Regions from separate parts of the Homo sapiens genome. Here region 1 is linked to region 2. Evidence: promoter capture Hi-C in 16 types of primary human blood cells and fetal thymus (Javierre and others, 2016). All regions are on one chromosome and are shown on one strand. Each heading gives the region's core, a stretch centred on a gene start or on the middle of the fragment in contact. The rest is flanking DNA. Distances are from core to core; before and after follow the strand shown.

Region 1 (5,215 bases), core at 844-3,343, 150 kb before region 2:
AAAACTTCTCGTTGGGACTAGGGAATAAGGAATTTTAATTATGACTATACAGCAAGTGTTTTTATCCTATCATGGCATAGAAATCCTTAAAGGAATCTATGAACCCCTTACATTATAAACAGAAGTTTTGTATGATTATGTGTTTTTCTAGGAAAAGAGTCCATAGCTTTTTTTAGGAATATTTGTAACCCAACAAAGGTGGTGAAATTCTCGTATGAAGAGTGGTTTCCATTTAATTTCTTATGCTTTCTATTTACTAGTCTTGGCCATTTCATCACCCAGTTAATAAGAAATTTGTTCCAGATTATTACAAAGTGATTGTCAATCCAATGGATTTAGAGACCATACGTAAGGTGAGTGAGTGATTTGATCTAAATGCCTTTTTGTAATCAAGTGACTGTGTGTGTGTGTATCTGAGTGCCTGATTCTTTTCATCACAGAACATCTCCAAGCACAAGTATCAGAGTCGGGAGAGCTTTCTGGATGATGTAAACCTTATTCTGGCCAACAGTGTTAAGTATAATGGTGGGTATTTCTCATTATTTTCTTTCCATGAATCCGTCCATCTTCTATCCATCTAACATTACTTAGCATTATTAAAAAATTTTTTTTTGAGACAGGATCTTGCTCTCTTACCCAGGCTGGATGCTGTGGTGTGATCATAGTTCACTGAACCAGGCACACGCCACCGTGCCAGGCTCTTTTTTTTTTTTTTTTTTTTTTTTTTGGTAGAGACAGGGTTTTACTATTTTGCCCAGGCTGAGCTCAAGCAATCCTCCCACCTCGGCTTCCCAAAATGCTGGGATTACAGGTGTGAGCCAACACGCCTAACCAGTATTATTAAAATTTATGTGCGTAAAGCAACCTTGAGCAGTGATAGCAGAATCAATTGAGTGACCTAGTCTTTCTATTTATTTATTTATTTTGAGATGGAGTTTCACTCTTGTTGCCCAGGCAGGAGTGCAATGGCACGATCTCGGCTCACTGCAACCTCCACCTCTCCCAGGTTCAAGCAATTTTCTTGCCTCAGCCTCCTGAGTAGCTGGGATTGCAGGTGCCTGCCACCATGCCCAGCTAATTTTTGTATTTTTAGTAGAAACGGGGTTTCACTATGTTGGCCAGGCTGGTCTCGAATTCCTGACCTCAGGTGATCCACCTGCCTCAGCCTCCCAAAGTGCTGGGATTACAGGCGTGAGCCACTGCTCCCAGCCAGTCTTTTTTTTTAAAGCAAGCATATATTTTAGTGTGTATGTTCTATAAAGATTGCTATTAGCCGTTAATGATGAAAAAGTAGTATACGCTTACTTTTGGAATCTTGGAAAGCACAGAAAAATGAGGTGAGCATAAAAATCAAATGGATTTTTATCCATTTGGGCTCTGAGCTATCACTGCTTTTTCCTGGAATGTGAAAACTCACCTATGTCCCAGGCCCTTACATGGAGCTTAGGGAAATGGGTAGCTATAGACCATGGTGAGCTTCCTTGGTGCATGGAGTTTTGCTCAGTACATGAGTTGATTGAATAACATATGCCAGGCCCTGTGCTAGCTGCTTAATCTACTGATAAGAAAGACAGTCACTGTCCTCAAGTAATTCACAATCCAGTTGGCAGAAAGAGACAATTAAAATGCAGCTTGGAACCAGGCATGGTGGCTCATACCTGTAATCTCAACACTTTGGTAGGCTGAGGTGGGAGGATTGCTTGAGGCCAGGAGTTTGAGACCAGCCTGGGCACACATAGCAAGACCTTCCTTGTCTGTATAAAAAACTTATAAACAAAAGCTTAGCTAGGTGTGGTGGTGAGTGCCTGAAGTCTTAAGATATTTGGGAGGCTAAGGCAAGAGGATCACTTGAACTCAGGATTTCAAGACTGCAGTGAGCTATGATCACGCCCCTGCACTACATCCTGGGCAACAGCAAGACCCTGTCTCTATAAATAAATAAAATAAATAAGTAAAGTGCAGCTTGACAAGAGCTATAATAGAAGTATGTGCAGATTGCATCAGACGAGAGCAAGGAATAACCTGAGAGTTAGGGAAGGCTTCATAAACGAGCTAATATAGTTCAGTTTTTAATGACTCAATTTTTAAACATTGAGTACTTACATGCGCTGGCACTGATAGATGTTACTAATATCAAATTAGATATGGTCTCTGCTCCAAGTTAGTTTAGTTGGAGAAACAGAAAAGAAAAATTATAGTACTTAAATTTTATTACTATAAGCATGCACAGAGTGTCACAGGACAGTATATCTAAATTAGAGTGGGGCTGGGTGCGGTAGCTCACACCTGTGATCCTAGTACCTTGGGAGGCCAAGGCGGGCGGATCATTTGAGCTCAGGAGTGCAAGACCAGCCTGGGCAACATAGTGAGACCCCATCTCAGAAAAAAAAAAAAAGTGGGGTTAGAGGAAGCTTTCTGGAAGAGGGTTTTCTTTCTTCTTTTTCTTTTTTGTAAATAGAGATGGGGGTCTTGCTGTGTTGCCCAGTCTGGTCTGGAACTCCAGGGCTCAAGCCATCCTCCCATCTTGGCCTCCCAAAGTGTTAGGATTACAGGCATGAGCCACCACACCCATCCAGAAGAGAGTTTTCTTAAGCTGAGTTCTGAAAGATCAATGGTGTTTACTTGGCAAAGAATGTGGAGGAGAAAATGTTCTAGGGTAGAGAGAACAGCGATATGTAAAGGCACAGAGGCCTGAAATTGCATGATAGGTTTAGGAAACAGGCTGGGTGTGGTGGCTCACGCCTGTAATCCCAGCGCTTTGGGAGGCCGAGGCCGGCGGATCACCTGAAATCGGGAGTTTGAGACCAGGCTGACCAACATGGAGAAACCCCGTCTCTACTAAAAGTACAAAATTAGCTGGGCATGGTGGTGCATGCCTGTGATCCCAGCTAGTCGGGAGGCTGAGGCAGGAGAATCGCTTGTACCCTGGAGGTGGAGGTTGCAGGGAGCCGAGATGCCGCCATTGCACTCCAGCCTGGGCAACAAGAGTGAAACTCCATCTCAAAAAAAAAAAAACAAAGAGACAGTGTTGGGGTTGCAGTTCAAGTGTACATACTGGTAAATAACTGTTTTGAGAGGCAGGCAAGAGTCAAATCATAGAGGATTTTGTGTGCTATACTTGAGTTTGTACTTGATCCTAAATGGGAAAACATTGAAGGAATGAAGCAGGGAAACAATTTCTTATAATTCCTTAAACAAATAGAAGAGGGAGCTAAGGACGTTTGAGAGAATTATCTGGCGTACTGAGGTTCTCAATTAAGAATCCACATGATTATAAGACTTTTCTCCTGTAATTTTTAGCAGTAAGTAGTACGGCTGTTAAGTTTGTCAGAAGGGGCAGAGAACTGGAGAGAAAAGGTGAAGGATTGGACAGTCAGAAAGACTGATGAAGAAATAAGCATTCTGGGCAGAGAACACAATGTTCAATATCATGGAAGAATGAAAGAGCAGGGCAAGTTCAGGGAACTATACGTAACTAGAACATGCATATATCATTAAGGAGATGAGATTTTCATTTTTGTTCATTCTGGTTTGGGTTGAAAGAATGTACTTTCTCAGTTTGCTGTGCTTATTACACATTGGAAAGTGGAGAGTGGAAATGTCCCTTGTTGGGTCAATTATCCATTATTGTTTTATGAAAACACCTAATCACCCAGAATTCTGGCAGTAGAAGTGTTGGTAAGCTCACAGATGTCTAAAAAAGACTATGTATAGCAAGTGATAAGCAAGAGTGTTACAGAAAGGTACTTGACCTGGTGATGGCTGACTTAGGACATAGGGCAGACTTAACAAGGAGCTTATGTAAAACAGTAAGAAAAACCCAGAAGATACTAATAAAAAAGTAAGCAGAGGGCAGATGGACAAATCACAAAAGAGAAAAATTAAATAGCTAACAAACATGAATAAATATTCTGTTGCACTAGTAATCCAAGAAATGCAATTGGGCCAGGCATGGTGGCTCATGCCTGTAATCCCAGCACTTTGGGAGGCTGAGGCAGATAGATCACCTTAGGTCGGCAGTTTGAGATCAGCCTGGCCAAGATGGTGAAATCCCATCTTTCCTAAAAATACAAAAATTAGCTGGGCGTGGAGGCGGGTGCCTGTAATCCCAGCTACTCAGGAGGCTGAGGCATGAGAATTGCTTGAACCTGGGAGGTAGAGGTTGCGGTGAGCCGAGATAGTGCCACTGCACTCCAGCCTGGGTGATAGAGTGAGACTTAGTCTAAGAAGGAAGAAAAAAAAAAAAGCAATTGAAAGAAAGAGATACTTTTTTTTTTAAACCTATTAGATTAGCTCAATTTTTTTTTTTTTTTTTTTTCTGAGATGGAGTCTTGCTCTGTCGCCCAGGCTAGAGTGCAGTGGCGCGATCTTGGCTCACTGCACCCTCCGCCTCCCGGGTTCAAGCAATTCTCCTGCCTCAGCCTCCCAAGTAGCTGAGATTACAGGCTCCCGCCACCGTGCCTGGCTAATTTTTGTATTTTTAGTAGAGATGGGGTTTCACCATCTTGGCCAGGCTGGTCTCGAACTTCTGACCTTGTGAGCCACTGCGCTTGGCCAACTCAATTTTTTAGTAGACATAATGGTAGTGAGACAGGTGCTCTCACGTATTGCTGTTGGCAGTATAAAATTGTGTGAGATTTCTGGAAAGCTATTTGGCAACATTGAGAGACTAAAATAAATTGTTGAGTGAACAGACTTTATTGTCAAGTAGACTTGGATTTGAACATTGGCCCCACCACTTAATAGCAATGTGACTTTGAGCAAATAACTTAGTCTCTGCTTCTCCTATCTGTAAAATAAGAATAATAGTACCCCCCTTCAAGAGGGTTGTTTTGAGGATTAAATAAAATAGTGCATGTAAGTACTTACCATGTGGTAAGATTATAATCCTAATCAGAGATGTAGTTAAAGGTATTCATGATATTGTTACTTATATTAGCAAGGATTTATTTAACCTGAATAGTTGACATAAAGGGGATGATGTTATAGTGCCATCTGTATAATTAATTATTAGGTACAGATTTACCTAATAAGCTCTTTTTTGGAAAACTTAATGACCAAAAAATGCTCACAATGTTAAGTGAGAAAAGCAGAGCACAAAGATGTTTATTTTATCTCAGTCATGCTTTTTTAAAAAAGATGTATATACGTACAAAAAAGGCTGGAAGGAAACACACCAGAGTGATAATAGTGGTTATTTCTGTGACATGGGGTT
Region 2 (4,817 bases), core at 2,023-4,522:
GTCTCGCTATACTGCACTTACGCTATCCAGTTGCAGGTAATTTTTTGTCTGCTAGTAGTGTTCTAGATTATGTCTTTCCAAAGCGCTGAGGCTGTGCACCTATTCTGTAGTTGCAGCTGATGCCTGAATGTATCCTAGCTGACAAATTATTGATTAATAAGAACTTGAATTTCTGGAAGATTCTTACTGTTAACCAAATTTTGAGCAAGGAGTCTCAAAGGTAATTCTGAACCAGAATTACATGTTAATGAACAGTGTACCTTTTAACAGTGTAAATCACGGAATATCCGTGAAGGGATTTCTTAATTTATTTTTTACCGGTTGATTGAAATATCAGTTAAAGGTTGCCAGCATGGTTGCAGATAAACTGATGTTTGAAATTCGCTGAAATACTTAATGTGGAATAGGATAATATACTTCCAATGCCCTCAAGGCTGTGACCTTACAGCCATTTTACATAGCACATCATTCCTCCTATAGGGATGAACTTTTTCCTGGCACGAAAAGTAGCCGCTCTGGTTGAAGCTTTGCTTATTGTAACAGGCTTTTATTTCCAGGTAATATGTCTTGGAAGACTTAATTCTGATTAGAGATATAGATATTACTGGAAACTAATTGTTTTTTTTCTATTGTACTCTGCTTTATCAAAGAAGTAAAACATTTAAATCGTACTACAGAAATTAAGATGTTGTCTTGCGATCCTTAATAAATGAATGATTTCCCTTTAATACGGCTGATGTATTTTGTATCCTGTTATATTGAGTGTTGGACTGAAGAATAGTGTCATCCAATGATGAAACCTATATTTAAACACCTCCAAACAGCATGAAAGGACCAAATTTCCCTACTGTAGCTATGATATTAGGAATTGTTTTCTCAGCCAGGTCTGGTAGAGGGTGGGGTTAGTTTATGATCCATTAAGAAGGCAAAGTGGCCTTGTGTGGTGGCTCACGCCTGTAACCCCAGCACTTTGGGAGGCGGAGGCAGGTGGATCACTTGAGGTCAGGAGTTCAAGACCAGCCTGGCTAACATGGTGAAACCCTGTCTCTACTAAAAATACAAAAAAACTAGCCGGGAGTGGTGGCACACGCTTGTAATCCCAACTACATGCGAGGCTGAGACAGGAGAATCGCTTGAACCCGGGAGGCAGAGGTTGCAGTGAGCTGAGATCGTGCCATTGCATTCCAGCCTGGACAACAGAGTGAGATGTCATCTCAAAAAAAAAAAAAGACAAAGCCTGTGATCCCCAACACACCCATTCATGCTTGCTCCTCTTTTGCTTGTGACCTCTCTGCTTTCATTTACCCTTGTAGTCTCGGTTTTCATGTGGACCATTCTTTTCTTGGCTCTTGGGGGCAAAATTATTTTCCTTCCTGCTCTGTATAGTGGTCGAACTCTGCCACAAGCATCAGGGAGGAAGATATCAATTCATGATTGATATCATGAATTGATATCATGGCAAATGCTGTTTGCCAGTTTTCTCAGATATGAGAGGGAAGATTTTTTTCAGTAAAATTTTGCATGATTTAATTCCCAACTTCTTAAAGCCCTCATGTGGATTGGTGTTTGTTTCCTAAAAGATTATTATGGGAAGAAAGCCTACTCAAAAGTTTTTACTCCCATTCGCTTCTCTTGAAAAATCTACATTATTTCCAGTCTACTTCAGCTCCTCCTGCCTTCAATCTAAAGGAGTTGCTTGCACACCTTGAGTAAATGTGTGTAATTTCTGAACTGCCCATTTTAAGATTTGATTCCAAACCTATCCCATTCTTTTACTTGAAGCATATGCCTCTCAATTATAGCTAACATCCTGGTTCTTTGCCCAAGCCTCTGAGGCACAGTTATGTAATCCCCATTCTTATAAAGAGGCTTGTAGAGGTTAATTTGCAACTTCATTGTAGAGAGAGAGAGTAATCAGCCCCCTTTATCCAATTTTTTTATCAACTGAGAAAGTATCTGTATTTAGGTAGGCAATCTGGTGCTTAAGAGCAGGTTTTGGAACTAGAGTTGGAGTTTGAATCTCAGCTCTGCCACTTTTTTTTTTTTTTTTGAGATGGAGTCTCGCCCTGTCCCCATGCTGGAGTGCAATGGCACGATCTCGGCTCACTGCAACCTCCGCCTCCCAGGTTCCAGCGATTCTCCTGCCTCAGCCTCCCGAGTAGCTGGGATTACAGGCGCGGGCCACCACACGCGGCTATTTTTTTTTTTTTATCTTTAGTAGAGACGGGGTTTCACCATGTTGACCAGGCTGGTCTCAAGCTCCTGACTTCGTGATCCACCCGCCTCAGCCTCCCAAAGTGCTGGGGTTACAGGCGTGAGCCACTGTGCCCGGCCAGCTCTGCCACTTTCTAGCTGTGTGATCTCTAAAATGAGAGTGCTAACAGTTGCCTACTTTTTAAAGTGTTGTATGAATTAAGTCGTAAGACACTTGGAATAATGCTTAGCACAAAATAGTATCAAACGCAGGGACATTTTATGTGTGTTCTGTTACCCAAAGGCATACATTACGAAATATATAGATGCTCGCTGGAGAAACTGGCACAATCTAGAAAGCGCTGTTTTCCCCGTTTGTTTTTCTTGGTGTGTATGGAGTGAGTGCCAAAAAGCCTCAAGTAACCTTTTTTTATCTCCAGGGTTTGGAGGGTTCTGGAAGTAAACATCATAGTTCGCCGTTGCCAGGCGCTGTTGAGTTGCTGCCTTGCTCTTATCTAGGGGTCTAGATGGCCTTCCCTGCAACCCCCGCCCCCCTGCGCTCCCGCGTCCCCCCGCGCCCCGCCCTCCCCTCGGTGTTCCCGTCCACGCCCCTGCTCCCGCGCCTTCGCTCCAGTTCTCGTGCCCCCGCCCCTCCCCCCGCGCCCTTTCCCAGTGGTTGCAATAACGGACTTAGAGGTCTGGACAATTCAAGTAAGGAACAAGGCTCGCTTATCCAAGTTCTCGCAGGATAAAAGTTTGTTATGAACGATTTCACATGGTTTCTCTTTATCAGAAAGTTGTTAGGGACTTTTAATCGCAGAATTGGCCTCGGGTGCCCACGCTCTAGTATTGAAATGGCGGTTTTGGGACAAATAAGCAACATCCGTGGGAGTGGAAAGCGACAGACCTGATCCCGGAAGCGTTACAGCTAGGCGCCAAGTTCACAGGCGCGAAGTTCAAATTTGTCTTGTGACCACTGTGATAGGTGGGTACAGGGGAGCGCGGGCGAGCACACGTGAATTACTGCTACCGCCCCCTAGGTCCGGGCACTATAAAGGGGCCTGCGCCTGGCGTTGTTCATCGCAGTTGCTCCGGATCTTTGCACACACTCCACGGGCAGTTGGAGGTGAGCTGCTGCCGGCCACGCCAGAGGCTGCAACACCAGGTAGGTGACCGGCTGGTCGGACTGAGATGGGTGCTGAAGTGGTCCAGAGGTTAATCCTAATTGAGTGACTTAATTAAAATCAGGACCACTGTATACCTTGGACTCTGGTTGCCCGTGTAGGCCTGAGGTGGGAGTAGAGGAAGTGGCAGCGAGGGGAGAAGTGGAGGCGCCAGTGGTAGCATTGGGGGAGGTGGGGGCGCCCATGGTGGTGTAGGAAACATATGGTGGCGCCAGTGGCGGCATTGGGAGGGGTGGGGGCGCCGGTGGCGGCGTAGGAGCAGCTGGTAGTGCCAGTGGCGGCGTGGGGAGAAGGGGCGCTGGTGGCGTCATTGCAGATAGTGGGGGGCCTGGTGGTGGCGTAGAAGGAGGTGTTGGTGCCAGTGGCGGGTGGAGAGAAGTAGGGGCACCAGTGGCGGCGTTGGGGGAAGTGGGGGTGCCTGTGGCAGTGTCGGGGAAGTGGGGGTGCTGGTGGTGGTGTAGGAGCATGTGGTAGCACCAGTGACGGTGTGGGGAGAAGTAGGGGCACCATTGGCGGCCTTGGGGGAAGTGGGAGCGCTGGTGGTGGCGTAGGAGCGTGTGGTGGCGCCAGTGGCTATGTAGGAATACGTGGCGCCGGTGGCGGCGCGGGGAGAAGTGAGGGCGCTGGTTGCGGCACTGGGGGGAGGTGGGGGCCCCAGTGGTGGTGTAGGAACAGGTGGTGTCCCTAGTGGCGGGTGGGGAGAAGTAGGGATGCCAGTGGCAGCGTGGGGGGAGGTGGGGGTGCCAGTTGCGGCCTAGGAGTACTTGGTGGCGTTGGTGGCATAGGAGCACATAGTAGCGCTGGCGGTGTGGGGAGAAGTGGAGGCGCCGGTGGCCGCATTGAAGGTGGGGGTGCCAATGGGGGCGTTGAGGGAAGTGGGGGGTTCTGGTGGCGGCGTAGGAACACTTGGTGGTGGTGGAAGTGGCCTAGGAGCACGTGGTGGTGCTGGTGGGCGTGGGGAGAAGTGAGGATGCTGGTGGTGGCATTGGAGGTGGGGGTGCCAGTGGCTGTGGGGAGAAGTGGGGGTGCCCGTTGCAGCATTGGGGGGAGGTGGGAGCTAGTGGTTGTGGGTAGGGGTGTGTGTGTGGGGGTTGAGGTCTCTTTGGCTGAGGACTGAGTGGTGGTGGGAGACAGGAGTGGGGTAGGGCAGAAGTTGGATAGAAGTGTGGGGGAGTGGAAGCCTGCTTGGAAAACCGGTTGGGAGCAGTTGAAGGTGGCTGGAGGTGGTTGGAGGTGCGAGTGTGGGGGAAGGGTGGTGGGGTTGAGGCCTGATTGGTGGAAGACTGAGGTGAGAATGGTGGGGGTAGGGTCCAGACCTGATAGGAGGAAGGAGTTGGGGAGGGGTCAAGGCCTGTTTGGTCGAAGATTGGCTAGAGGCTGGAGGCAGGAATAGGAAGCGTGGAGGGGGTGGCCGGATTCATATAAGACCAGTGAGAAGCC

The links. Contacts are between HindIII fragments. The CHiCAGO score rates a contact against its expected background, and 5 or more counts as called.
Region 1: a fragment that was not itself captured here is called in contact with the fragment with the promoter of GCNA in region 2 in 16 of 17 cell types (activated CD4 T cells, naive CD8 T cells, naive CD4 T cells and 13 more); the score reaches 16.0 in activated CD4 T cells.

The regions. Positions count from the first base shown.
Region 1 is chrX:71,423,714-71,428,928 of GRCh38, forward strand. It overlaps TAF1 (TATA-box binding protein associated factor 1), which reads left to right. Exons shown (of 38, transcript NM_004606.5): 31 at 261-353; 32 at 441-525. Among named protein-coding and RNA genes, the nearest start is that of TAF1, 60 kb to the left of the region's middle. The HindIII fragment of the contact is 631 bases long and covers 1,779-2,409 here.
Region 2 is chrX:71,575,165-71,579,981 of GRCh38, forward strand. GCNA (germ cell nuclear acidic peptidase) reads left to right here and starts at 3,273. Exons shown (of 13, transcript NM_052957.5): 1 at 3,273-3,358. OGT (O-linked N-acetylglucosamine (GlcNAc) transferase) reads left to right here. Exons shown (of 22, transcript NM_181672.3): 22 at 1-728. RefSeq lists an enhancer at 3,480-4,121. The HindIII fragment of the contact is 6,206 bases long and covers 524-4,817 here.